2 separate regions of the Homo sapiens genome follow, and region 2 is linked to region 1. The links are contacts of gene promoters, found by promoter capture Hi-C in blood cells and fetal thymus (Javierre and others, 2016). All regions are on one chromosome and are shown on one strand. The core of a region is centred on a gene start or on the middle of the fragment in contact, and the rest is flanking DNA. Distances in the headings are between cores, read along the strand shown. Region 1 holds the start of RXYLT1-AS1 (RXYLT1 antisense RNA 1). Region 2 overlaps C12orf56 (chromosome 12 open reading frame 56).

Region 1 (7,023 bases), core at 936-3,435:
TTAAGGAATTGTTATTAAAGCAATAATTTTATAATCCAAATTACGTTTCCTAGCTCAGTTATCAATTCTGTTACTTAAAACAGAACTGACATTTTGAACTATTCCACAGTAAAGAATTACAAAATTAAAGAAAGGAATGCTTTAAATTTTTGCACTTTGCTGAAAATTTTTTCCCAGAGTCTATAAAACATTAATTGGTTTTCATATTTTACTATTTTTGTGTTTTTTTAAAATTTTTAAATCAATAAGTAATCTAGGACTAGCATTATGTTTGCTAGACCTGGCATTTTCTCGGTACATAAGGTTCAAAGTTTCTTTTCCTTTTTAAATTTATTTTATATTTTGCAATGTTTATTAAAAAAATAATATTTACATTTTTCGATGTTTAGATATTTTTCTTCTGTGAAGCACAAGTTTCTTTTCATGGTACCTGATCAATTTTAAACAGTTGGAACACCGGTGGCACGGTTAACTGCTTTCTGGGCAGCCACTTCAGCTTGGTGGGCTTGTAGTACAGCTACAGTTTCATTAACCTTAGAACGGAGTGACTCTGGAGACTCCAGCATATGAAGAAGTTCTGAATTACCAATCTCCAACAACATGCCAGTGATTTTACCAGCAAGAGTAAGGTGCATGGCTTGAATAAGAGGAAACAGCCGTTCACCCAACATTTGCTTTTGCTCTTGAGCATGGGCAGATACCAACATGGAAGCAGTCAAAGGTTCCTGACCTTGTACATGAGCAGCAGGCTGTTGCATTGTAACTTGTGGCTGTGCATTAAGATGTTTCTGAGGACTGCGAACTCCCGCAGCATAGTTATAATGTGGAGTGGCAGCAGCAGCAGCTGCAGGACGTGGACCCATTGTCTGTGTCGATGTGTTAGCAACACGCTGTGTTGACATAACTCATGGAACCTGTGAAGAAGCTGGTCTCATAGTACTAAATGGTGGTCTAGGAGCAGCCGGGCGGATAGCACTGGGCCTATTTTGGAATGGATGGGGTCTGGCACCCTCAGCAGTCCAGCGAGGACTTGGTCTTAGTTGAGCAATTTGGCTAGGAGGATAGTATGCAGCACCGTTCTGAGTCTGTGGGATAGCTGCCATGAAGTAACCTGAAGGAGGTGCTGGCTGGTAGGGGTTGATTTCAAGATTGGGCACAGCTCGTACACTTGCCATTCTTTGCATATACTGGTTAGTGAGGTGAGCCTGGCACTCTTCTTTGCGCTGAGCTAAAGCAACATACAATGGCTTTGTGGCCACAATTCTACCATTCATTTCTGTAACTGCTTTAGTGGCTTCTTCTGGTGAGGAGAAACATACAAAACCAAACCCTTTGCAGCGACCACCCTCCATCATAACCTTTGCACTGGTGATTGTACCAAATGGAGAAAACTCTTTCCGGAGACGTTAATTATTAATGCCATCATCAAGATTTTTCACATAAAGATTAACACGGTGGTATCTGGTGATCCTATCTTGCCTCACCTGTTCAAATTTGCGCTTAAGTTCTGTCTGCCGTTCCACTTTTTTCTGAGCTCTACCTACATAAATTTGTTTTCCATTGAGCTCCTTTCATTTCATCCACAGCTTTCTGTGCATCTTCAAGCCTTTCAAAGCTTACAAATCCAAATCCTTTAGATTTTCCACTTTCACCAGTCATTACTTTCACATTTAAGGCAGGCCCAAACTTGCCAAAGAGATTCTTAAGGCGCTCATCATCCATGTCTTCTCCGAAATTCTTGATGTAAACATTGGTGAACTCTTTCACGTAGCTCCAAGTTCAGCTTCTCGTTCTTTATGAGACATAAATCGTCCAACAAATACTTTGCGATCATTTAGGAGCATTCCATTCATTTTTTCCATAGCTCTTTCAGCTGCTTCCTGTGTCTCAAAGTGTACAGATCCATAGCCCTTGGAATCATTTTCATCACAGCCCACCTTACATGAAAGGATGTTACCAAAAGCAGAAAAATGTATCATACAGTGCTTTATTATCAATGGATTTGTCCAGATTTTTAATGAATATGTAGCCCACTCCACTTTTGCGAAGTGATGGATCACGCTGAGACTACACGATGCGTACTGGCTTGCCCTTTATAACATCAAAATTCATAGTGTTCACAGCATGCTCCGCGTCCGCGGGCTACTGGAAGTTCACATACGCGTAGCCCAAGGAGCCGTGGGTGATCATGTCCCTGCAGACCCGGATGGAGAGGATGAGCCCGGCCGCGCTGAACTTCTTGTAGAGCATCGCCTCGGTCACGTCGGGATGGAGGTCCCCCACGTACAGCGAGGACGTAGCTGGGGGCACTGGGGTTCATCTCGGCACTGCTGCTCGCAGGGCCACAGGCCGCGACCTTTCCGTGAGAGGAGGAGAGCGAATGCTGGGGCTAGGGGCCGGAGCTGGGGGAAGGTGAGCGGGGGCAAGCGCAAGCGCAAGCGCAGAGGGACAAAAATCACCCGGAATCGAAAACTACTTCACCGCCCCAGAATGGTGTTGATCCGCTGCCGCTGGCTGCGGGCGAAGGTGGAGGTGTCAGTCCGGACAGCGGGAAGGCCTCGGTCTCTTGGTTCCTTTTTGGAGCTGCTGCGGGCGGGCGAGTCGGCCTCGGCTGCTTCACGGGGTTACTTTATAAAAGAAGAAGAAGAAAAAAATAAAAGTCTATGGCAGGGGAGAGGCGGATTTTTTGTAAATTGTGGGAAAGTTTTTAAAATATTTTTTTAGATTTTTTTTTAATAATAAATGTATGTTCCGAGCCTGGAGCACACACTCCGCACTCTGAGCACTAACTGCCGGGAGAAGGGGCTAATTTTTGTATTTTCAGTAGAAACGGGGTTTCACCATGTTGGCCAGGCTGGTATGGAACTCCTGACCTCAGGTAATCTGTCCGCCTAGCCCTCCCAAAGTGCTGGGATTACAGGCGTGAGCCACCACGCCCGGCCAGTTTTTCTTTTTTTCTGATGTAGGCACTTGTAGCTATAAAATTCCCTCTTAGTACTGCTTTTGCTGTATCCCATAGGTTTTGGTATGTTGTGTTTCCATTATCATTTGATTCAATAAATATTTCAATTTCCTTTTTAATTACTTCATTGATCCACTGGTCGTTCAGGAGTATATTGTTTAATTTCCATATGTTTGCATAGTTTCCAAAATTCCTCTTGTTATTAATTTCTAGTTTTGTTTCATTGTGGTCAGAGAAAATGCTTGATATTATTTCAGGGTTTTTTTTAGACTGAGTCTCCCTCTGTCACCCGGGCTGGAGTGCAGTGGCGTGATCTCAACTCATTGCAACCTCTGCCTCCTGGGTTCGAGTGACTCCCTTGCCTCAGCCTCCCGAGTAGCGGGGACTACAGGTGTGTTCCACCATGCCTGGCTAGTTTTTGCATTTTTAGTAGAGATGGGGTTTCACTATGTTGGCCAGGCTGGTCTCAAACTCCTGACCTTGTGATCTGCCTGCCTCGGCCTCCCAAAGTGTTGGGTTACAGGCATGAGCCACTGCACCCGGCCCAGTTTTTTTTTTTTTTTTTTTAATGTTTTAAGACTTATTTTGTGACCTAATAGATGGTCTATTCTTGAGAATAATCTATGTGCTGAGGAAAATAATGTGTGTTCTGCAGCCATTGGATGAAATGTTCCATAAATATCTATTAGATCCGTTTGTTTTATAATGCAGATTAGGTCCAATTCATTAATTTTCTATCTGGAAGATCTGTCCAGTGCTGAAAGTGGGGTGTTGAAGTCTTCAGGTAGTATCATATTGGGAACTATCTCTCTCTTTAGCTCTAATAATATTTACTTTATATATCTGAGTGCTCCAGTGTTGGGCACATATACATTTAAAATTGTTATATCCTCTTGCTGAACTGACCCCTTTATCCTTACATAGTGACCTTCTTTGTCTCTTCTTTAGATTTGTCTTGAAATCGATTTTGTCTAAGTATAGCTACTCCTGCTCTTTTTTGGTTTTTATTGGCAGGGAGTATCTTTCTATCCCTTTATTTTCAGTCTATGTGTGTCTTTGTAGGTGAAGTGTCTTTCTTGTAAGCAACAGATCAGTGGGTCTTATTTTTTTATCCATTTAGCTACTCTATGTCTTTTGATTGGAGAGGTTAGTCCATTGAAGAATTTACATTCAATGTTATTATTGATAAGTAAGAACTTACTTTTGCAATTTTGTTAATTGTTTTCTGGCTGTTTTGTGGTCTTCTTTCTTTCTTTTCTTCCTGTTTTCCCTTAGTAAATATTATTTTCTCTGGTGATATGATTTAGTTCCTTGCTTTTTGTTTTTTGTGTATTCATGGCATGTTTTTTTCATTTGAGATTACCATGCGGCTTGCAAACGCTATCTTATAACCCATTATTTTAAGCTGATAAAAACTTATCACTGTTTGTATAAACAAACAAGCAAAAAGAAACCTAATAAAAAGTTTACACTCTAACTTCATCCCCCCTTTTTAATTTTTTGTTGTTTCTATTTATATCTTATTGTACTGTTCATGTCTTAAAAAGTTGTCATAGTTATTATTTTTGATTGATTCATCATTTAATCTTTCTGCTTATGACAAGAGTAGTTTACATACCACAGTTACAGTGTTATCATAGTCTGTGTTTCTCCATGTACTTATTTATTACCAGTGAGTTTTGTACCTTTTCTTTCAAATTGAAGAACTCTCTTTAGCATTTCTTGTAGGACAGGTCTGGTATTGATGAAATCCCTCAGTTTTTGTTTGTCTGGGAAAGTCTTTATTTATCCTCCATATTTGAAGGATGTTTGGACTGGATATACTATTCTAGGGTAAAAGTATTTTTTTTATTCAGCATTTTAAATATGTCATGCCACTCTCCCTTGGCCTGTAAGATTTTCACTGAAAAGTCTGCTGCCAGATATATTAGAGCTCCATTGTATGTTATTTGTTTCTTTTCTCTTGCTGCTTTTAGGATCCTTTCTTTATCCTTGACCTGTGGGAGTTTGATTATTAAATGCCTTAAGGTAGTTATCTTTGGGTTAAATCACCTTAGTGTTCTGTAATCTTCTTGTACTTGGATATTTATATCTTTCTCTATGTTTGGGAAGTTCTCTGTTATTATCGCTTTGAATAAACTTTCTACCCCTGTCTCTCTACCTCCTTTTTAAGGCCAATAACTCTTAGATTTTCCCTTTTGAGGCTATTTTCTAGATCCTTTAGGGATGCTTCATTGTTTTTTATTATTTTTTTCTTTTGTCTCTTCTGACTGTGTATTTTCAAATAGCTGTTCTCATGCTCACTAATTCTTTCTTCTGCGTGATTCATTCTGCTATTAAAGGCCTCTAATGTATTCTTCAGTATGCCAATTGCATTTTTCAGCTGGAGAATTTCTGCTTGATTCTTCTTATTTCAATCTCTTTGTTAAATTTTTTCTTATAGAATTGAATTCTGAATTCCTTCTCTGTGTTATCTTGAATTTCTTTGAGTGTCTTCAACACAGCTATTTTGAATTTTTCATCTGAACATTCACGTATCTCTGTTTTTCCAGAATTGGTTCCCACTGCTTTATTTAGTTTATTTGGTGAAGTCACATTTTCCTAGAGTGTGTTGATACTTAAGGATGTTTGCTTGTGTGTGGGCATTGAAGAGTTAAGTGTTTATTGTCTCACCTGAAGCCAGCAAATCCCAGAGGTTCACTGTCTGGGCCAGACTACTGCAAATGTTCCCTTAAGGCTCAAGGGCTCTTAAGTCAGCTTTTTTTTTTGGATGGTCCCTGGCCTGGGACTCACCCTTCATGGGGGTGTTCTCCTCTTGGCCCAGGGCAGGTCCAGAAATGCCCACCAAGGGTCAAGTCCTAGAATTGGGGACCTCATGAGCCAACTGGGTGCTCTACCCAGCTGTGGCTGTGCTGTTACCTAAGGTGCAAGACAAAGTCGCCTTCATGTTTTCCTCTGCTTTTCTCAAGCAGAAGGAGTTTTTCCCTGTAGTTACCACAGCTGGTAATATGCTGAGTCTCACCTGAAGCCAGCAAGTTCCAGAGGTTCACCAACGCTCTTGATGTAGTACGTGGGTATAACTGGTGGTTATTCAGAGCCCAGGGGCTCTTCAGTTAGCAGGTGATGAATGCCACCAGGACTGGATCCTTTCCTTCAAAACAGTGGGTTCCCTTCTGGCCCAGGGCATGTCTAGAAATGTCCAGGAGCTACGGCCTGGAACAGGGAGCTCATGACTCTGATGCTTTGTCCTGCTGTGGGTGACCTGGCATCCAAGATTCAAGACAAAGTCCTCGTGGTTCTTCCCTCACCTCAAGTGGAAGGAAGGGGTCCTTTTGGAGCTGCAAGCTGTGCAGCCTGGAGTTAGGGGAGGGGTGATGCCAGCACTCCCTTTGTTATGCCAGCTAATGTCTCAGTAGTCATGTACCCCCCAAGTCCACTGTCTCTGGGCCTAGTTCAGCACTAGGACTCACCTATGAGTTGCAGTCCTATGACCTAGACTACCTTTCAAGTTTATTTAGAGACCTAGAGCACTTTAGCCCTCAGTGGCAAGGTTTGTGGGAACTCAAGTTCAGACTGCTGGGGTTGGCAATTCCCCTCTGGCTAGGGCTGGTTGAAAGACCCCCTCTGTGGGTGGATGTCAGCTGAGTTTGGTCCGGTTTTCCTTTCTGCTATAACAGGACAGCACCAAGTTTAATGCCTCATAATTGCTGTATTTTCCCTCCCCCAGCACCCATAGATGCTCTTTGCACCATGCCGCCAATGCCATGGCATGAGGAGGGGTGGCATTGATGATTCAGAACTGTTTTCTCTATCTCTTCATTGCTCTTTCAGCAATACAAAGTTAAACTCAGGTATGATAAGGGCTTACTTGATTTTTGGTTCTTATGAAGGTGTTCTTTTCTGTGTAGACCATTATTAAATTGGTGTCTCTGCAGTGGGGGGTGGGAAGGAGATCGGTGGAGACTTTTATTCCACCATCTTGCTGTGCCTTCCCGTATCCCATTACTGATAATGTATTGATCAGTTGGTTAAGTTGGTGCTTTCTCAACTGTAAACTTGTA
Region 2 (6,369 bases), core at 2,108-4,607, 550 kb before region 1:
ATGTCTGGAAGAAAGGAAAACAGTAATATTTGTGAGCAGTACTTAATGACCATCTCAAATAGTTGACATTTATTGAGTGCTTACTGTATGCCAGTTAGATGCTGTTCTAAGTGCTTAGCTTGGAACTTCATCCTCATAACAACTCAGATAATATTCTTAGCTCAGTTTTACAGACAAGAAACCTGAATTACAGAGAATTTAAGCAATTTGCCCAAGGTTGTCCATTAAGTGGCAGAACCAGAATTTGAATTTAGATCATCTGGCTCCAGAGTCAGTGCTCTAATCTCTAGGCTACAGCTCCTTTGGTACCTAGTAGATCATAAAAAAAAATTTTTTTTGGTTGCCTGAATTCCCGCAAGACTTTAAGCCTTTTGAAAACAGAAACCCATCTTACATTTTGTATGTTTCAGTTTTGGCCTTTGTAGTAAGAGCTCAAAAATACTTATGGTGAATTGAACTGAACAAATCAGAAACTAGATAATCAACTGCTGAAAGCTTAGGGGTCTTTTTTTCTCTGAAATTAAAAGCTGATAAAAGAAATATGAATCAAGGCTATGAAAGCAAGAATAACGGATAAGATAAATATAGATTTATTCACAAAATATGGGAAACCAAGAAATAAGAGGTACTCCTTTGCATTTTGAAAGTAACATTTTAAAATTTACAAAGAAATCACAAACATATTAAAAAGTGGGCCAAGAGGCCAGGTGCAGTGGCTCACGCCTGTAATCCTAGCACTTTGAGAGACTGAGGTGGGCAGATCACTTGAGGTCAGGAGTTCCAGACCAGCCTGGCCAATATGATGAAACCCCGCCTCTACTAAAAATAAAAAAATTAGCTGGGGGTGGTGCACTTGCCTGTAATCCCAGCTCCTCAGGAGGCTGAGGCTGAGAATCGTTTGAATCCAGGAGGTGGAGGTTGCAGTGAGCCGAGATCACACCACTGCACTCCAGCCTGGGCAACATAGCGAGACTCCTCAAAAAAAAAAAAAAAAAAGTGGGCAAAGGACATGAACAGATACTTCTCAAAAGAAGATATACATGTGGCCAACAAATATGTGAAAAAAGTTCAACATCACCAATCACTACAGAATGCAAATCCAAACGAAAGTGAGATACTATCTCACACCAGTTAGAATGGTGATTATTAAAAAGTCAAAAACAACAGATGCTGGTGAGATTGTGGAGAAAAAGGAACCCTTTTACAATGTTGGTGGTAGTGTAAATTAATTGAATCATTGTGGAAGACAGTGTGGCAATTCCTCAAAGACCTAGAGGCAGAACTACCTGGCCGCTGCACTCCAGCCAGGACAACAGAGCAAGACTCCATCTAAAGAAAAAAAAAAGAAAATGTGGTACATATACACCATGGAATACTATGCAAGCATCAAAAGGAATGAGATCATGTCCTTTGCAGAGACATGGATGGAGCTGGAAGCCATTATCCTCAGCAAATTAATGCAGGAACAGAAAACTAAATACCACATGTTCTCACTTATAAGTGGGAGCTAAATGATGAGAACACATGGACACATAGTGGGGAATGACAGACACTGGGGCCTGTCAGAGGGTGGGGGTGGGAGAAGGGAGAAGGGAGAGGATCAGGAAGAATAGCTAGTGGATGCTGGGCTTAACACCTGGGTGATGGAATGATCTGTGCAGCAAGTCACCATGGCACGGATTTATCTATGTATTAGATTGGTACAAAAGTAATTGCTGTTTCGGACCGTGGATTTTAAATCATTATAACTAGGCTCAAACACATCTTTATTCATTAAGATAGTAACCATTACAATCAATACATTTTTGCCAACAAGAAATAAGTTTGTTAATTCCTATAGCTTAAAAATCCATGCTTTGGGGCCCAACGAACTCTTGGAAAGCATTTTCTGCATCCTGCTGGTTGTGGAAGCATTTTCCCTGCCAAAAGTTGTCAAGATGCTTGAAGAAGTGGTAGTCAGTTGGCAAGAGGTCAGGTGAATATGACGGATGAGGCAGAATTTTGTAGCCCAATCTTTCAACTTCTGAAGTGTTGGTTGTGTGATGCGCAGTCGGACATTGTTGTGGAAAAGAATTGGGCCTTTCCTATTGACCAATGTTGGCTGCAGGCGTTGCAGTTTTGGTGCATCTCATCTATTTGCTGAGCATAATTCTCAGATGTAATGGGTTTGCTGGGATTCAGAAAGCTGTAGTAGATCAGACTGGCAGCAGATCACCACACAAGGTGACCATGACCTTTTTTTCAGTGCAGGTTGGCTTTGGGAAATGCTTTGGAGCTTCTTCTCAGTCCCACTACTGAGCTGGTTGTCGCTGATTGTAGTATAAAATCCACTTTTCATCGCACATCACAATCCAATCAGAAAAACTGTTCGTTGTTGCATAAAATAAGAGAAGATGACACTTTAGAACAATATTTTTTAAATTTTCGCTCAACTCATGAGACATGCATTTATCAAGCTTTTTCACATTTCTAATTTGCTTCAGATGCTGAATGACCATAGAATGGTTGATGTTGAGTTCTTCCAAAACTTTTTGTGTAGTTGTAAGAGGATCAGCTTTGATGATTGCTCTTAATTTGTTATTGTCAGCTTCCAATGGCCAGCCTCTATGCTCCTCATCTTCAAGGCTCTGGTCTCCTTTGCAGAACTTCTTGAACCACCACTACACTGTACACTTGTTAGCAGTTCCTGGGTCAAATGCATTGTTGATGTTGCGAGTTGTCTCCACTGCTTTATGACCCATTTTGAACTTGAATAAGAAAATTGCTCAAAAAGACAAAAATAGTTTCCTTTTCCTCTAACCTCATTTCCATACTCTAAAATAAATATAAAATATGGGCTTGGCATGGTGGCTCATGCCTGTAATCCCAGCACTTTGGGAGGCAGAAGCAGGTGAATCACTTGAGGCCAGGAGTTCAAGACCAGCCTGGCCAACATGGTGAAACTGTCTCTACTAAAAATACAAAATTAGCTGGGCATGGTGGCACGGGCCTGTACTGCCAGCTACTCAGGAGGCTGAGGCAGGAGAATTGCTTGAACCTGGGAGGCGGAGGTTGCAGTGAACCATGGTCACACCACTGTACTCCAGAGTGAGACTCCCTCTCAAAAAATAAATAAATAAATAATAAAATAAATATAAAATAAACAGCAAGTAATAAGTCATTAGCAAAAAAAGCAAGAAACATGCATTAAAACAATGTATAACATAACCACATTTATTTAAGAACGTATTCCAATATCAAACAGCAAATTTCAACAATGCAAAAACCGCAATTATGTTTGCACCAACCTAATAGCAAACCTGCACATTCTGCACATGTACCCCTGAACTTAAAAGTTGAAAATAAAGACTGGGGATGGTGGCTCACACCTGTAATCCCAGCACTTTGGGAAGCCAAGGTAGGCAGATCACCTGAGGTCAGGAGTTTGAGACTAGTCTGGCCAACATGGTGAAATCCTGTCTCTAATAAAAATTTAAAAATTAGCCGGGCATGGTGGTGGGCACCTGTAATCCCAGCTACTCAGGAGGCTGAGGCAGGAGAATCACTGGAACCTGGGAGGCGGAGTTTGCAGTGAGCCGAGATCTCGCCACTGCACTCCAGCCTAGGTGACAGCGAGACTCCATCTCGGAAAAAAAAAGAAAAAAAAAAGTTGGAAAAAAAAGTAATGTTTTGATAAAAGTAAGATAAATTAATATCAGTTGCAAATATAAATATGGTGAAAAATGATGTAGATACATTTGTGAGTGATATATTATTCTTAGAGACCCCATGACTCTCCATTCAAGATTGTCATCCTTCAAAGCCCAGACTGGTGTCTTTGCTGTTGTTGATGAGGTTCAAGGACCAGTTTAGCTGAAAAGGCCCAGGTGGGATGTAGCATCCTTTTCCTAGGGCCAGGATTTGAAAGATTTTTACTTTTAGTCTTTCTTGGCTGTGTATCCAGACCCCGAGGCAATGATTTTTCAAGCCTAACACTGAAATAATTTTCAATATTATGATGAGGCACTGCCTAATTCTCAAAACTGGTAATTCTTTTGGGAATTTGTAGATGGATCATTCATGCCAGCAATATTCATAGATTCTAAAAATAGCTCATCTACCCAGACTTCCTTAGGGATTGGTACACTAAAGCCCAGGTAGAATATAATGGAAAAAAAGACCACCTGGTGGAGATGGCAATGAGGTTTTTAATTATGAAAATGAGAGGGTTTGCCAAGTTCCAAATGGAAAAATAGTTTCTACTTAAGACTAAGCTTATGTACAATGTGAAGGTAATTGCTAATGTGGTTTAATTTGGGGAAAAGCTACTCAGAATGTTTTCATATATTGGCCACTGTGTTAGTAGATTTTCATGAGAGAACATGAACGAGAAGATTAAAAAAACATATAAATAAATTTTAACCCCCTAAAAAAAATTATCGGTAGATTCAATCCTTTGGGTTTACCATTGGTCCTCTTTTAGATTCTTTGAAATACTCTCAGATCAGGTGACTCATTAAATTACAACAAATAATTTGTTACTTGCTTTCCTTCCTTTAGTGGAGACTGGAGAGTTAGAGTTTGCTGTGCAGAGAAGTTGGGTCCTGAAAGGACCATGGAAGCTGAAAGATGTCTCACAATTTAGCACTTGCTGGGTCTTACACTGATTTCAAAACTGTGGCCCAGTTGATCTCCAAATTTTTCTCTACATTGTGCACTTCCATTACATGGATATCAGGTTTTGTTTTCTTTATTTTTTTTCAAGACAGGTCTTGCACTGTTGCCCACGCTAGGGTGCAGTGGTGCAATCTCAGCTCACTGCAACCTCTGCCTTCTGGACTCAAGCAATCCTCCCACCTCAGCCTGTGCAAGGACTACAAGTACATGCCACCACACCCAGCTAATTTTTCATATTTTTTGTAGAGACAGGGTTTCACCATATTGCCCAGGCTGGTCTCAAACTTCTGAGCTCGAGTAATCTGCTTGCCTCCATATTAGATTTCATATGGAGTATTCCACAAATGTTTTGAACTACCAGGAACCAAAAACATAAAAGTGAATAAAAAATGGTACCTGTTTTTGAGTAACTCATAACTTAGGGAAGGAGGCAAGCAAATGAGGAAGAAGGAAAACAGTTATAAACAGATAATGATAATGAAATGTGAAAACAGATATAATAAGCAGAATATTGCAGGAAACCAGAAGAGTGATATATTCTGTCGAGGGCATGACGCAGGTAAAGTTTCATCGAGGAAGTAAAAAGCTTAGTCTTAGAGAATGATTAGAAGTTTCTAGGCAGAGAAAAATGGCTAGTGTGTTCCAAAAGGAGGGAAAAGCATGTGCTTGATCAGGTTTCTACAATGTATCTAAACTCAAATAGGGACTTAGTAGAGCCTGGCCAGGCATGGTGGCTCATGCCTGTAATCCCAGCACTTTGGGAGGCTGAGGTGGGCGGATCACCTGAGGTCAGGAGTTTGAGACCCAGCCTGGCCAACATGGTGAAACTTCGTCTCTACTGAAAATACAAAAATTAGCTGGACATATTGGTGTGTGCCTGTAATCCCAGCTACTCAGGAAGCTGAGGGAGGAGAATCGCTTGAACCTGGAGGCAGTGGTTGCAGTGAGCCAAGATCGTGCCATTGCACTCCAGCCTGGACAACAGAGCGAGACTCTGTCTCAAGGAAAAGAAAAGCAAAACCTAAAAAAAATTACTAAAAGCTTCAAGATCATTAAATTCAAACCATTTCCTACAGCTTAAGATTTAGGTTAAAATAATAGGTAGTCAGACATAGTTCGCAATAAAATATTGCCATGGAATACTTTCAAATTTAAATGATCAAAAAATGAATTGTTTTGCTAAACTACAAATCAGTTTATATGATTAAACTCTTAGGGTTTTTTTTGAACAAAGGTAAAAAACATCGTTTAATAGCATGTTCTCAATACTTGCTTACAAATGAACTCTTGGGTTTTATGAACCTTTGGGCAAATCCCTTAACTTCCTCCATGCCTCAGTTTCCTCAACTATAACATATAATATCTATCTTCTAGGGTAGGTATGAAGATCAAATAAGTAAATGTACAAAAAATGCTTAGAACAGATTTTGAACAGAGAAAGTACTGTGTAAGTGGCTAGGTGCAGTGGCTCATGCCTGTAATCCTAGGACTTATGGAGGCCGAGGAGGGAGGGTCACTTGAGGTCAGTAGTTTGAGACCAGCCTGGCCACCATGGTGAAGCCCTGTCTCTACTAAAATACAAAAATTAGCTGCATGTGGTGGTGCGTGCAAAAAAAAAAAAAAAAAAAAAGAAATCATTGCCAAGACCAATATCATGACACTTTCCCCCTGTATTTTCTTTTTATTATTATTATGTTTTTATTTGAGACAGAG

Evidence for each region. Contacts are between HindIII fragments. The CHiCAGO score rates a contact against its expected background, and 5 or more counts as called.
Region 2: a fragment that was not itself captured here is called in contact with the fragment with the promoter of RXYLT1-AS1 in region 1 in 1 of 17 cell types (M0 macrophages); the score reaches 5.0 in M0 macrophages.

The regions. Positions count from the first base shown.
Region 1 is chr12:63,817,318-63,824,340 of GRCh38, reverse strand. RXYLT1-AS1 (RXYLT1 antisense RNA 1) reads left to right here and starts at 2,185. Exons shown (of 4, transcript NR_126167.1): 1 at 2,185-2,412. It overlaps MIR10527 (microRNA 10527), which reads right to left and starts at 678; the gene lies at 614-678. It also overlaps the pseudogene PABPC1P4. The HindIII fragment of the contact is 5,765 bases long and covers 1,618-7,023 here.
Region 2 is chr12:64,371,821-64,378,189 of GRCh38, reverse strand. All of the region lies in intron 1 of C12orf56 (chromosome 12 open reading frame 56), which reads left to right. Among named protein-coding and RNA genes, the nearest start is that of C12orf56, 16 kb to the left of the region's middle. The HindIII fragment of the contact is 1,797 bases long and covers 2,459-4,255 here.